2 separate regions of the Homo sapiens genome follow, and region 2 is linked to region 1. The links are contacts of gene promoters, found by promoter capture Hi-C in blood cells and fetal thymus (Javierre and others, 2016). All regions are on one chromosome and are shown on one strand. Each heading gives the region's core, a stretch centred on a gene start or on the middle of the fragment in contact. The rest is flanking DNA. Distances are from core to core; before and after follow the strand shown. Region 1 holds the start of CLEC4F (C-type lectin domain family 4 member F). Region 2 has its middle 29 kb from the start of FAM136A.

Evidence for each region. Contacts are between HindIII fragments. The CHiCAGO score rates a contact against its expected background, and 5 or more counts as called.
Region 2: a fragment that was not itself captured here is called in contact with the fragment with the promoter of CLEC4F in region 1 in 1 of 17 cell types (M2 macrophages); the score reaches 6.4 in M2 macrophages.

The regions. Positions count from the first base shown.
Region 1 is chr2:70,818,440-70,824,415 of GRCh38, reverse strand. It overlaps CLEC4F (C-type lectin domain family 4 member F), which reads left to right and starts at 3,817. Exons shown (of 7, transcript NM_173535.3): 1 at 3,817-3,953; 2 at 4,525-4,641; 3 at 4,972-5,061. The coding sequence starts at 3,893. It also overlaps a transcript of CD207 not described here. The HindIII fragment of the contact is 10,753 bases long and covers 1-5,976 here.
Region 2 is chr2:70,327,489-70,333,669 of GRCh38, reverse strand. No RefSeq gene overlaps it. Among named protein-coding and RNA genes, the nearest start is that of FAM136A, 29 kb to the right of the region's middle. RefSeq lists a silencer at 3,559-3,853. The HindIII fragment of the contact is 548 bases long and covers 2,573-3,120 here.

The sequences.
Region 1 (5,976 bases), core at 2,568-5,067:
AATATTTGTGTGTACATCTAATTTTTTTTGAAAAGATCATTATGCTTGCACCATGGTGACAGGACTTGAGAGGGGGTAAGAGGAGAGGCAGGGAGAACAGTTAGGAGACGAACGGAATAAAAGCCAGGTGGTTTGCATTCAGGCCTGTAAATGTGTTGAATTGTTGTTGCTGTATTTTGTAGGGTGTAAAATCAGGACACTTTGTACTGCTGAATACAAGTGCTCACATCATGTCAAGAAGCTGTCCCTACTATTAAATAAAATGTCCTGGATTAAAAAACATAAAGAAGAATCCGCCTCTCTCCCTCTCCTGGCTCTGGCTCCCTCTGGTTTGGCTTTAGTCCCACCAAGTAGACTCTTTCTTTCTTTCTTTCTTTCTTTTTTTTTTTTTGGAGTCTTGCTCTGTCACCCAGGCTGGAGTGCAGTGGCACAATCTCGGCTCACTGCCACCTCCGCCTCCCAGGTTCAAATGATTCTCCTGTCTCAGCCTCCCGAGTAGCTGGGATTACAGTCACCTGCCACCATGCCCAGTTAGTTTTTGTATTTTTAATAGAGACAAGGGTTTCATCATGTTGGCCAGACTGGTCTTGAACTCTTGGCCTCAAGTGATCCACCTGCCTCGGCCTCACAAAGTGCTGGTATTGCAGGCATGAGCCACCGTGCCTGGCCAGTTCTTGTATTAATGCCCATTTGTTTTTGTCTGGCCAGAGAACAGAAAGCCTCTCAGTGAAGACATAGCAACCCCCTGGTTTTTCTGCCCTGCTGGTAGATGGTGTTCCTGTGGGAAATAGAAGAGCTAGGGCCCGGAGGGTGGGTGGGGAGGCCAGGGAAGAACTATGCCCCTCTCCTGGCCCAGACTCTGACCTTCCAGTTGGGCAAGGGATCCGTAGAGTTCTGCCTTCGAGGTTCCCTCAGCTCTCAGGCCTCAGGAGGAAATAGGTCCTGAGTAGGTCCAGCCTGGGCCCTTCCTGTGTATGGGGAAACAGAAACCAAGACAAGCCCTTTCTTTTCAGCCACCAGCCCTGGGTGTCTGATGGGCCTCTAGGGAGGCACCTCCAGCAGCTTCCATCCCATTCTATGTGGCGGTGAAGGAGTCTGGCAGACACCACTGGGATCTCAGGCAGCGCTGTTGATAGTCCAGAAATAGGTGCCTTCACCCTTCATTCCTGCTGTGCCCTCCTCTCTAAGGTCAGTTTTCAACAAACAGGAGGTAAAAGGCAGCAAATGGTGGCTCTGCACTCTACACATTGGGCCCCTAACACTGCACAGTTCAACACACACACACACACACACAAACACACACACCCCCACCATCATGAACTGGGTGTGGGCAACCGCTCCCTTCCTGTCTGCAGATCCCCTACCCACGGGGCGACTTGCTTGCCGGGTTGACATCAGCCACGCATGGCACAGGCTCCTCCTGGGCCAAAGCTGTTCTCCTGGCCCGGCCTCAGAGGAGGCACGTTCCGTGTGGCTTCTCCACCTTTGTGGTTGGTCTGCAGTGTTGTTAGTTGGCAGCTGGGGACCTATAAGAGGCTGACCCCAGGATCTGTGCAAAAGACATGAGAATGGGACATAGGAACAGAGGGTGAAAGTAGCAAAGAAACAACACAACATGGATGGAACAAGCCATTTGCAAGGTTGTGAGTTTGTTTAAGAGTTGCTATGATGGTGTAATATGTAATTAGACTTTCCAAAGTGAAAGAAAATGTGATTTATTTCAAAAAGATTGTGACCGTTTGAAGTAATGGAGACAAGAAGGAACCAAAGAACAGGAATCTGCTGGTAACCCCAGCACTGGCTTTTAGAGGGGTTCCTTGACCAGCCATGGGAATATTGGTTCTGTTCAGCTGGTAACCCCTGTGGCAGGGACAGGGACATCACGTTTGCACAGCTCCATGGCACTGTCCACTGGGATGCCTCATGCCTTCTCTTCTAATGCTAGGCCCACCCAGCAGCAGGAACCCCTGAAGCAGTATCTGTTCCTCCTGGAAGGGATAGGGCTCATTGAAAGCCACACATTGGCCCCAGCCTGCTCCATCAGATTCTTTGGAGTTAGTCTTGAGAACCTGGTCACCTCAGGAGGCATGGATCCAATCAGCTAAAGTTGGGGCCTGCTTGGTATTTTCTGACACCACTTCTGACACCAAATGTGTGCTTTTTCCTGACACCAGCCGATTCTCTGACACCCGCTGGGCATCCAACAATTCAAACAGATTCTAACACTAACTTCCAGAGTTAGCACAGATCTCACAGGGTAAGGCCTCAGTCCCACAAGACTGCCCCCCTTCAGATGCTAGCTACAAGTGAGGTAGTGACCCCACTTCTGCCTGGTCAACTACAAATTTGGGGGTTCTGGCTAGGCAAGGTGGCTCATGCCTGTAGTCCCAGCACTTTGGGAGGCTGAGGTGGGAGGATCACTTGAAGCCAGGAGTTCCAGACCAGCCTGGGGTATAAAAAGAGATCCCATCTCTACAAAAAAATAAAAATAAAAAATTAGCCAGGTATGTTGGCACACACCTGTAGTCCCAGTTATGCTGGGGTTATGCTGGATGTGACAGAGGCTGGGATGTTGGGGCTGAGAACTGAGGATCACTTGTGTCCAGGAGTTCAAGGCTGCATTGACTTATGATCGTACCACTGCACTCCAGCCTGAGTGACAGAGGGAGACCCTGTCTCAAACAAAAAATTAGGGGGTTTCTGCAACAACCTCTCAGTTTTCATAATTCACTAGAACAATTCACAGAACTCAGAAAAACACTGTACTTCCTATTCTTTTATTGTAAAGGACAAAAACAGCCTGATGAAGAGGTACACAGGGCAAGGCCCAGTGGGGTCCCAAGTGCAGGAGACTCTGTCTCTGTGGAGTCAGGGCATGACACCCTCCTGGCATGTGGATCACCAATCCCTAAGCTCCTTGAATCTCATTTTTTAAGAGTCGTTATAGCCCAGACCCCAGGCCATCTCCCATACCTGGAGGTCTGGGAGTAGGGAATGGGAGTGGGTGGCTGAAAGTCCCAGTCTTCCAAAGTCTAATCCCATGTTTGGTCTTTCTGGGACCAGCCTCCAGCCTGAAATTATCTAAGGGTCCACCCTGTGTCACCTCATTAGCATAAACCCAAGTGTAGTCCTAAGGGGCTTATTATGAATAACAAAAAACACTCCTGTCACCCAGGAAACTCTAAGCGTTTTAGGAGTTCTGTGTCAGGAACTGAGATGAAGACCAGATATATTTTTTACAGAGTTGTCCCTTGGTATCTGCAGGGGATTTGTTTCAGGACTCCCATGGGTACCAAAGTCCACAGATGCTCAAGTCCCTTGTACAAAATCATGTAGTATTTTTATATAACCTCCGCACATCCTCCTGTATACTATAATTCAGTTGTGAGTCCCCAAGTGGCTGGTCACCCCGCTTCCTCCTTTGACCTGCAAATATCGGCCGCACTGACCTGGCCCCTCTTTTACCTGACTCCTTTTACTTAAGAGGTTCTGAGGCTAGAATTAAAGGTCAGCCATAGTCATAAGGATGTTTTCTGTGCAAAGCTGAGACCCCCTTCCTAGGTGCCAGTCCCAGCCCCCAGAGAAGAAGAGGTGTGTTTGGGGTTATGCTGGATGCGGCAGAGGCTGGGATGATGGGGCTGAGAACTGACGGGAAGGTGCTAATGGGAAGAGGAAGAAAATAGGGCAGATGGGTATCTGGGAGCCTCTAGGGGAGGGGCCCACTGGGGCGGGTTTCTGCAGAGTCAGGCAGGGAGGGAGGAAGAGCTGGGAGGGTGGTCAGGAGCATATAAGTGTGGGTGTCTCAGCTTTGCTTCCACTGCCATTGGTCCACGGGACGGCCCTTCCAGGAGCCAGTGGCTGGGAGCAGTGCTGGAGGATCAAGGAAGCAGAGATGGACGGTGAGGCAGTCCGCTTCTGCACAGATAACCAGTGTGTCTCCCTGCACCCCCAAGGTGAGAAAACTGGGGCCCCAGCTCTTGCCCAGTGAGGGAGTAGCCTGCCTGTCCTTTGGCCCTCTGCCATAAGGCAGCTTATTGCTGTCTTATTGCTCTCCCCAGACCCTTGTCCTTGGGGATGCAGACCTGGCAAGAGAAAGGGGATGAACTTTGAATTCAGATGGTCCTGGCTTGGAATCCCGGCTCTGCACACTGAGCTGGTCCTGTGAGGCCTCCCTCCCTTCCTTTCTTCTTTCATTCAAACTACACTTTTGTTGCTCTGTGCTCTGTGCCAGGTTCTGTGCCCTGTGCACCACCAAAGCCTCCTTGAGATTTGGAGATCGGTGGTCTCGGTCTCAGAGCTCCTCAGCTCTGTGTTGCTACCATATCCACATCTAGCTCTGGTGAACAGCCCAAAGTGTTTTGTCTTCCTTCTCCATAACCACCTGCATGATAAGCATGGCAGGAGTTATCATCCCCATTAGACAACCCAGGAAACAGAATCAGAGAGGCTGTGTCTCAGCCTGCACAGCACCCTCTTACCTTGCACAGCACCCTCTCACCTTGGACACTGCCTTCTCCCCTGCAGAGGTGGACTCTGTGGCAATGGCTCCTGCAGCCCCCAAGATACCGAGGCTCGTTCAGGCTACCCCGGCATTTATGGCTGTGACCTTGGTCTTCTCTCTTGTGACTCTCTTTGTAGTGGGTAAGCCCCCAGGTGACCCAAATCTCACTAACTTTCTCTCCTTTCAGCACAAAGTCCCCAGGGGCCCCAGATGCACACTCTCTGGGCCTCTCTGCTCCCAGAAAGATCATTCCACCTCCAGCTCCAGGCCCAAGCCACAGCTTCCCTGGGAACAGATAAAGGCCACTGTCCAAGGGGGAGCCTCCCAAGAACTGAGGTTCATGAGGGAAACCCTGGGAGGGTCTTTGCTGCTATCTCCCCGGTTCTGGAACTCTACCTCTGTGTGGGACAGCGTATCCTCCCAGGCTCAGGGCTGGGGATTTGCTGACCTGGAAAAATGGAATGTCTCAGTTCAACAGCAGACAAGACCTGTTCCGAAGCCTGTGCAAGCCGTAATTCTGGGAGACAACATTACTGGGCATTTACCTTTTGAACCCAACAGTGAGTAGCCACAGTGGGGGTGGGGTGCAGAGGGAACTGGGGCCTTCAGATGCTCAGACCCTAGGATGAGCTTCTCTCCTGGTACCCTCTGACCACTGAATGGGCTCCACCATCCTCACAGAAAGAGATAATTTTTTAAAAACACAGTTTTATTGAGGTCTAATGGTGTATATATTTAAAGCATACAATCTGTTAAGTTTTGACATATGTGTGTGCCCCTGAAACCATCACCACAATCATCATCACATAGTCATCCTCCTCACCCCAAAGTTTCCTTGTGGCTCTTTGTAATTCCTTCCTCTCCCTTCCTCTCCTCATCCCTGGGCAGCCACAGATCTACTTGCTGTAACTATAGATTAGTTTGCTTTTTCTAGAGTTTTATAGATAAGAGATCATAGAGTATGTACTCTTTGTTCTTTGCTAGTCATGTGATTTGCAAATATTTTTCTCTCAGTCTGTGACTTGTCTTGTCATTCTCCTAACAAGATTTTAATTTTGATAGTCTAATTTATCATTTTATTTCTGTTATGGATTATTCTCATGATCTCGTATGTGAGAAATCTGCCTAATCCAAGGCTACAAAGATGTTCTCCTTTGTTTCTGGAAATTGTACAGTTTTTAGTTTTAGTTTTTGTTTTTGTTTTTTGACGGAGTCTCGCTCTGTCACCCAGGCTGGAGTGCAGTGGCGTGATCTCGGCTCACTGCAAGCTCTGCCTCCCAGGTTCATGCCATTCTCCTGCCTCAGCCTCTGGAGTAGCTAGGACTACAGGCGCCCGCCACCACGCCTGGCTAATTTTTTGTATTTTTAGTAGAGACGGAGTTTCACCGTGTTAGCCAGGATGGTCTCGATCCCCTGACCTCGTGATCTGCCCACCTCAGCCTCCCAAAGTGCTGGGATTACAGGCGTGAGCCACC
Region 2 (6,181 bases), core at 1,597-4,096, 490 kb after region 1:
TTCTGCATGAGTTATATTATCCATAACTTCATTTCATTAAGGTAAAGGTGGAACTATAAGATATTTGTTTGAAAAGGGGGCACCAAGTCCAGCAGAATTGAGAAACACCAGGAGAAATAGCTCTTTGCCAGAATGCAAGACAAATTTGAATATGGCCACCCCAACCTGAGCAGGATCTCTGGACTCCCGTAGTTGGACATTTCCCCACATCCTGGTGGCTGTCAGCTAGGACTGCATGAGGACTCCATCAGCAGAAAGGAGGTTCTCCCATAAACAGTTCTACAAGAGCCTGCCCACACACTCCAGAGGCTACACCTGTACCAGATGACAGCTGCAAACCCTCAATGGCCTATGAGGGAGACCAAACTCTTCACATGGAGGATGGTTAGGAAATGTGCATATGACATGCAAAAATGCAAGAAGCTGGGATAAAGGAATAACAGGTAAACCTCTAGACCAGCCTGTAGTCAAGGAAGCATTGCTGGAACAGGGAAAGGCTGGCATTGAAGTGGAGAAAACCCTTCTATGCCCACCAGAAAGGTGGGAGCATCCCTGGAGGGAATCTTCTCCAACTGCCCTTTGCCCCATTGAAAATTCAGATGAGAAGAGGAGGCACAACGTGTCCTAGCTGCACACCTCCTGAGGTGAAGAAGAGAGACAGAATTATGGAGAGTGAGATGCTGAGGCCTCTGTACCACACCTGTCTCCCTAGGTGCAGGGCAGATGACCAGGGGCCTCATGCAAGGGACACTGGGCGCCACGAGAATCACGAACACAAACCATTAGCCCATAATCTACCTTTACCTTATTAAAATGATTCCCCCACTCCTACATTTCACGTTGTTTTCCTCCCTCCAGGAAGACTATCAACCCCAAATGATTACGCTTCCCTCCCTTCACACTCCCACCCCACCCATCCCACACTTGGTGCTGCTATGAATACCCCCATTAAAGCTCATTCCTCTGAACTCAGGCTCTGCCCTCTGTTAACAGGTGGCTTTTCTGCAGAAAGAAGTACCCATGGGCCAGGGGCGGTGTTCACACCTGTAATCCCAGCACTTTGGGAGGCTGAGGCGGGTGGATCACCTGAGGTCAGGAGTTCGAGACCAGCCTGACCAATATGGCAAAACCCCGTCTCTACTGAAAATACAAAAAAGTATCCCAGCATGGTGGTGGGTGCCTGTAATCCCAGCTACTGGGGAGGCTGAGGCAGGAAAATCACTTGAACCCAGGAGGCAGGGTTGCAGTGAGCCAAGATCGTGCCACTGCACTACAGCCTGGGCAACAAAGAGCAAAACTCGGCCTCAAAAAAAAAAAAAAAAAAAAAACCCAGGAAGCTGATCCTGTCAAACTAGGCAGAAGGCAAATAGAAACTGTCCCCAGCTCTGGGTGTGGGGCCCTCAGCTGGCAGGACTAGGGGGTCAGTGATGGGTGACCTCACAAGCTAAATCACCTGGGTCAGGGCTGAGTGACCTTGATAAAAGGTACTATGATAGCTCACTTCAGCCTTGAACTCCCAGGTTCAAGCAATCCTCCCACCTCAGCACCAACCCCTGACGGCCAGGTAGCTGGGACTACATGCACATGCCACCATGTTTGGCTAATTTTTATCATAAAGATAACACTTTTTCTTAAAAAAAATGTTCTTTTTGAGACAAAGTCTCACTCTGTTGTCCAGGCTGGAGTGCAGTGGCGCAATCTCAGCTCACTGCAACCTCTGCCTCCTGGGTTCAAGTGATTCTCATGCCTCAGCCTCTCAAGTAGCTGAGATTACACGTGCATACCACCTCGCCTGGCTAATTTTTGCGTTTTTAGCAGAGATGGGGTTTCACCATCTTGGCCAGGCTGGGCTCAAACATCTGACCTCAAGTGATCTCCCCACCTCGGCCTCCCAAAGTGCTGGGATTACAGGCATGAGCCACTGCCCCCAGCCTCTTTTTCTTAAATTATATTATCCATAAATTCAGTGCAATCCCAATCAAAATCACAATTTTTATAAAACTTCATGAACATAAAGCATTAGCCCAGAATCTACCCCATGGGACCCAGGGACTTCAGCCATCAGCACAGGGGGCTCTTTTTCCCATAATGTTCACATTTATCAAAGTAATGCAGTCGTTAAGAAAATAAGGCAAAATATTTTAAAAGTAGAAAGAGGAACACAGTTTCACCCACTTCCACCTTCAAAACAACTTTGCAAACGTGGCAGTGTATCTCCCTTCAAATGTTTATAAAATCTGCAAGTTTGCTCTAACATAGAACAATGCCATCAAATATATTTGGTGGTCCTAAAAGTCACACCGTGAGGACAGGCACCCAGAGCACAGTTGCATTTAGAATAAACTCCAAGCTCCTTCACGCAGCCTGCAGGCCGGTATGGTCTGGCCCTGCCTCTGTTCCCGGTCTCATCTCCCGACCCCACTGGCCTCTCTGCCCCTCAGGCAGACGGTTTTTTCAGTCCTGGAAGGCACCCAGCCCTGTCCATCTTGGTGACCCCAGGTGGGCCATTCTGCTCCTAATGTGCTTTGGGCGCCCCTGCAGCCTGGTTCACATCCTTTCACAATTCAAAGCTTGGTTCTGGGGCCTCTCCTGGCTTCCCCCATCCCCATCTCAGTTAAAGCCCCTCTGTTATTCTCTTTCACAGCCCTCTACCTTTTCTGAATAATACGTCCCCCAATTTATAATGATACACTTTGCTTATCTATTTGGCATCTGTGTCCCCCACTGGAGGGATATGGGCAGGGTGACATGTGTTTTGCTCCTCTCTGGTGCTCCCCTCCTTGGTGTTCTTTTGTTCACATCTCCCTGTTTCATCTGCTCCAGCCCAACTTGTTCCCAGTCCCATCAGCTTCCAACCTCATGGTTCAAATCCAATGTATAGTCTCTCTTTGCAACCCCCAAATAGTGTCTCCAGCTGTGAATTCTGTTTCTCTCCTCTAATAGGGGGCAGTCTCCTCCCTGCTTTTTTTTTTTTTTTTTTTTGCTTCAGCTGGGAGGTGAGCAGCCCCATCTGTTCCCACCCAGGCTGGCCCTAAGCAGCAGTCTCTACACTGCCGCCGAAGAAGTTCCTGCAGACTTCTCCCCGCCCCTAGAATCAAACACATCCACTAACATCAAGCTTGAGCCACAAAGTTCCAGAGGTACCTCTGGGTTGCTGGGAGGAGCAGCAGTAACTTAATGCTGGTGTCTGGGGTGCAGAGGAGAGAGGGCCCCACTCTGAGCTCACAGAGTGCTGGAGGTTCAGGCTGTGGAACACCGGAACACAGATGTTCCCCAGGAGCCTAGATGCCCACTCAAACCTTCTTAGGCACTTTTGAATCTTCTTTTTTTTTTTTCTTTTTGAGACGGAGTCTCGCTCTGTCAACCAGGCTGGAGTGCAGTGGCGCTATCTCGGATCACTGCAAGCTCCGCCTCCCAGGTTCACGCCATTCTCCTGCCTCTGCCTCCCGAGTAGATGGGACTACAGGCGCTCACCACCACGCCCGGCTATTTTTTGTATTTTTAGTAGACACAGAGTTTCACCGTGTTAGCCAGGATGGTCTCGATCTCCTGACCTCGTGATCCGCCCGCCTCGGCCTCCCAAAGTGCTGGGATTACAGGCGTGAGCCACCGCGCCCAGCCGGCACTTTTGAATCTTTACAGGTCCCACCATCTTGGGTGAGGCAAAGTACAGTTTACCTTCATTATTCACAGTAGTTATGTTCTATAAAGCTGGCTGGAGGCCAAGGGCAGTGGCTCACGCCTATAATAGCAGTACTTTGGAAGGCTGAAGTGGAAGGATCATTTGAGGCCGGGAATTTGAAAGCAGCCTGGGCAACATATTGAGACCGCATCTACACAAAAGAAAATTTGTTTTAATTGGGCAGGCATAGTGGCCCATGCCAGTAGTCACAGCTGCTCAGGAAGCTGAAGCAGGAGGATCTCTTGAGCCCAGGAGTTCAAGGTTACCGTGAGCTATGATCACACCACTGCACTCTAGCCTGGGCAACAGAACAAGACTGTCTCTAAAAAAAACAAAAGCTCAACCAAGAGCGTCTCTGATATTTAAATAACGATTGTAGAGAACTTTATAGTTCTTAACACATTTGCATGCATGTGTGTGTGTGTGTGTACACATATATGGCTAAATTAACAGCAGATCCTCAAGACTAACCACAGTAAACAAATTGCCATGATGCCTTTTCCATGAGAACTGCTTTGTACACCCTGGCAATCCATCAGAACAGAAGCCAAAGCCCCAGTGTGCCCTTTTGTACTCTGTACTCCAGCTCACCTGCTGCTTCCCAGCTCACCTGTTTTCCCAAAGTTACAGACAGAGGACAGACAACATTGTTAAACTCTAGAGTGATTCCCATGGGCAGGGCAGGGCAGCGGGAGTGAGTAGGAGGGTGTTTTCTTCAAGTTGAAGGAGAGGAAAGAAAAAATATCCAGCTGTAGCAATCAGATTGTCGGCACCAAAGACAGAGTGACTCAGGGCAGGTCCTTGGCAAGCAGGCACTGAGCCAGGCTGGGCCCACACCCTGGAGAATGAGAATAGCATTCTGTGATCAAAGTGGGAAGGAATGCATCCATTCCGGAAACCAGGTGAGGCAGGGTTGTCATTAAGACAATCTGGGCAGAGCTGTGATTACAGAGGGAGCAAGCTGACGGGATGAAAACGGAAATCCACAGCGCCTGCTCCCTGCTGAGCAGCCCAGCTTGCCCATGCTGCCCTTTGGTCCAGCTAATGTCTCTGGGCAGTGATAAGGCCTTAAGTATCTGTGGATAAAGCACCTGATAGTTAACTAAAAATAATAATAATTTCAAAGTTTTGTTGAGTGAGCTTTAGTATTATATGAACTATCAGTCCTCATTCTTTTTCTCATTAATTAGGATGGATGTTCTAACAAGAGAAATTTTATATAACTAAAGAAGACACTTTTTTTTTTTTTTGAGATGGAGCCTATGTCACCCAGGCTGGAGGGCAATGGCGCGATCTTGGCTCACTGCAACCTCTGCCTCCCGGGTTCAAGCGATTCTCCTGGCTCAGCCTCCCAAGTAGCTGGGACTACAGGCATGCGCCACCACACCTAGCTAATTTTTTTTATTTTTTATTTTTTATTTTTTGAGACCGAGTCTCGCTCTGTCGCCCAGGCTAGAGTGCAGTGGCGCGATCTCGGCTCACTGCAAGCTCCGCCTCCCGGGTTCACGCCATTCTCCTGCCTCAGCCTCCCGAGTAGCTGGGACTACAGGCGCCTGCCACCACACCCAGCTAATTTTTTTGTATTTTTAGTAGAGATGGGTTTCACCGTGTTAGCCAGGATGGTCTCCATCTCCTGACCTCGTGATCCGCCCGCCTCGGCCTCCCAAAGTGGTGGGATTACAGGCGTGAGCCACCGTGCCCGGACTAATTTTTGTATTTTTAATAGAGACGGGGTTTCACCATGTTGGCCAGGCTGGTGTCAAACTCCTGACCTCAAATGATCCGACCACCTCGGCCTCCCAAAGTGCTGGGATTACAGCTGTGAGCAAGAAGACACATTTATTAAAGAAAACTTAGAAACCCCTGTAAACATTCAGAAGAAAATTATAGTCATTTCTAATCCAATCACTCCTATGTGATGACCCTTAACAGTTGTGCTGTGATTCTTCAGATTTTCTTCTAGGCATGTATATATAACATTTGTTTCTTATTTTAAAAATAAATCATGATGCATAAACTATTTTGTTACTTGAGTTTTTTCACTCAATCAAATGTAACATACTTCTTTCTTACCAAAAAAAATTCTCCTACAGTGTGGTTCTTTGTGTCTGTGGGGTACTTCATTGCACGGTCCTTTTGTTAGTTATTTAATCTGTTTCCTGTTCTTACACGTTTAGTTGCTTCCAAACGTGGAATATTATAAATGCTGTACTATACATCCTAGTTCACATATCTTTCCAAACATGTCTGCTTATCTCCCTCCTTCAAGATGAATTGTTGGGTCAAGGAGTTTTCATGTATTTGTGGCTTATGATATTCACTGCTAAATGACCTTGCTCTACAGGCTAGTCGTACCATTTACATCACCACCGTGTAAACGGTCCTTTTTCCTCTCATCCTCGCCTGCAAAAGGTTTTGCCCTGCTAGCCAACGAGTTGAACTGTGTGATAGGAAGAACCGTGATTTGTTTTCTTTTTGATTTCTTAAATGTTTAGTGAA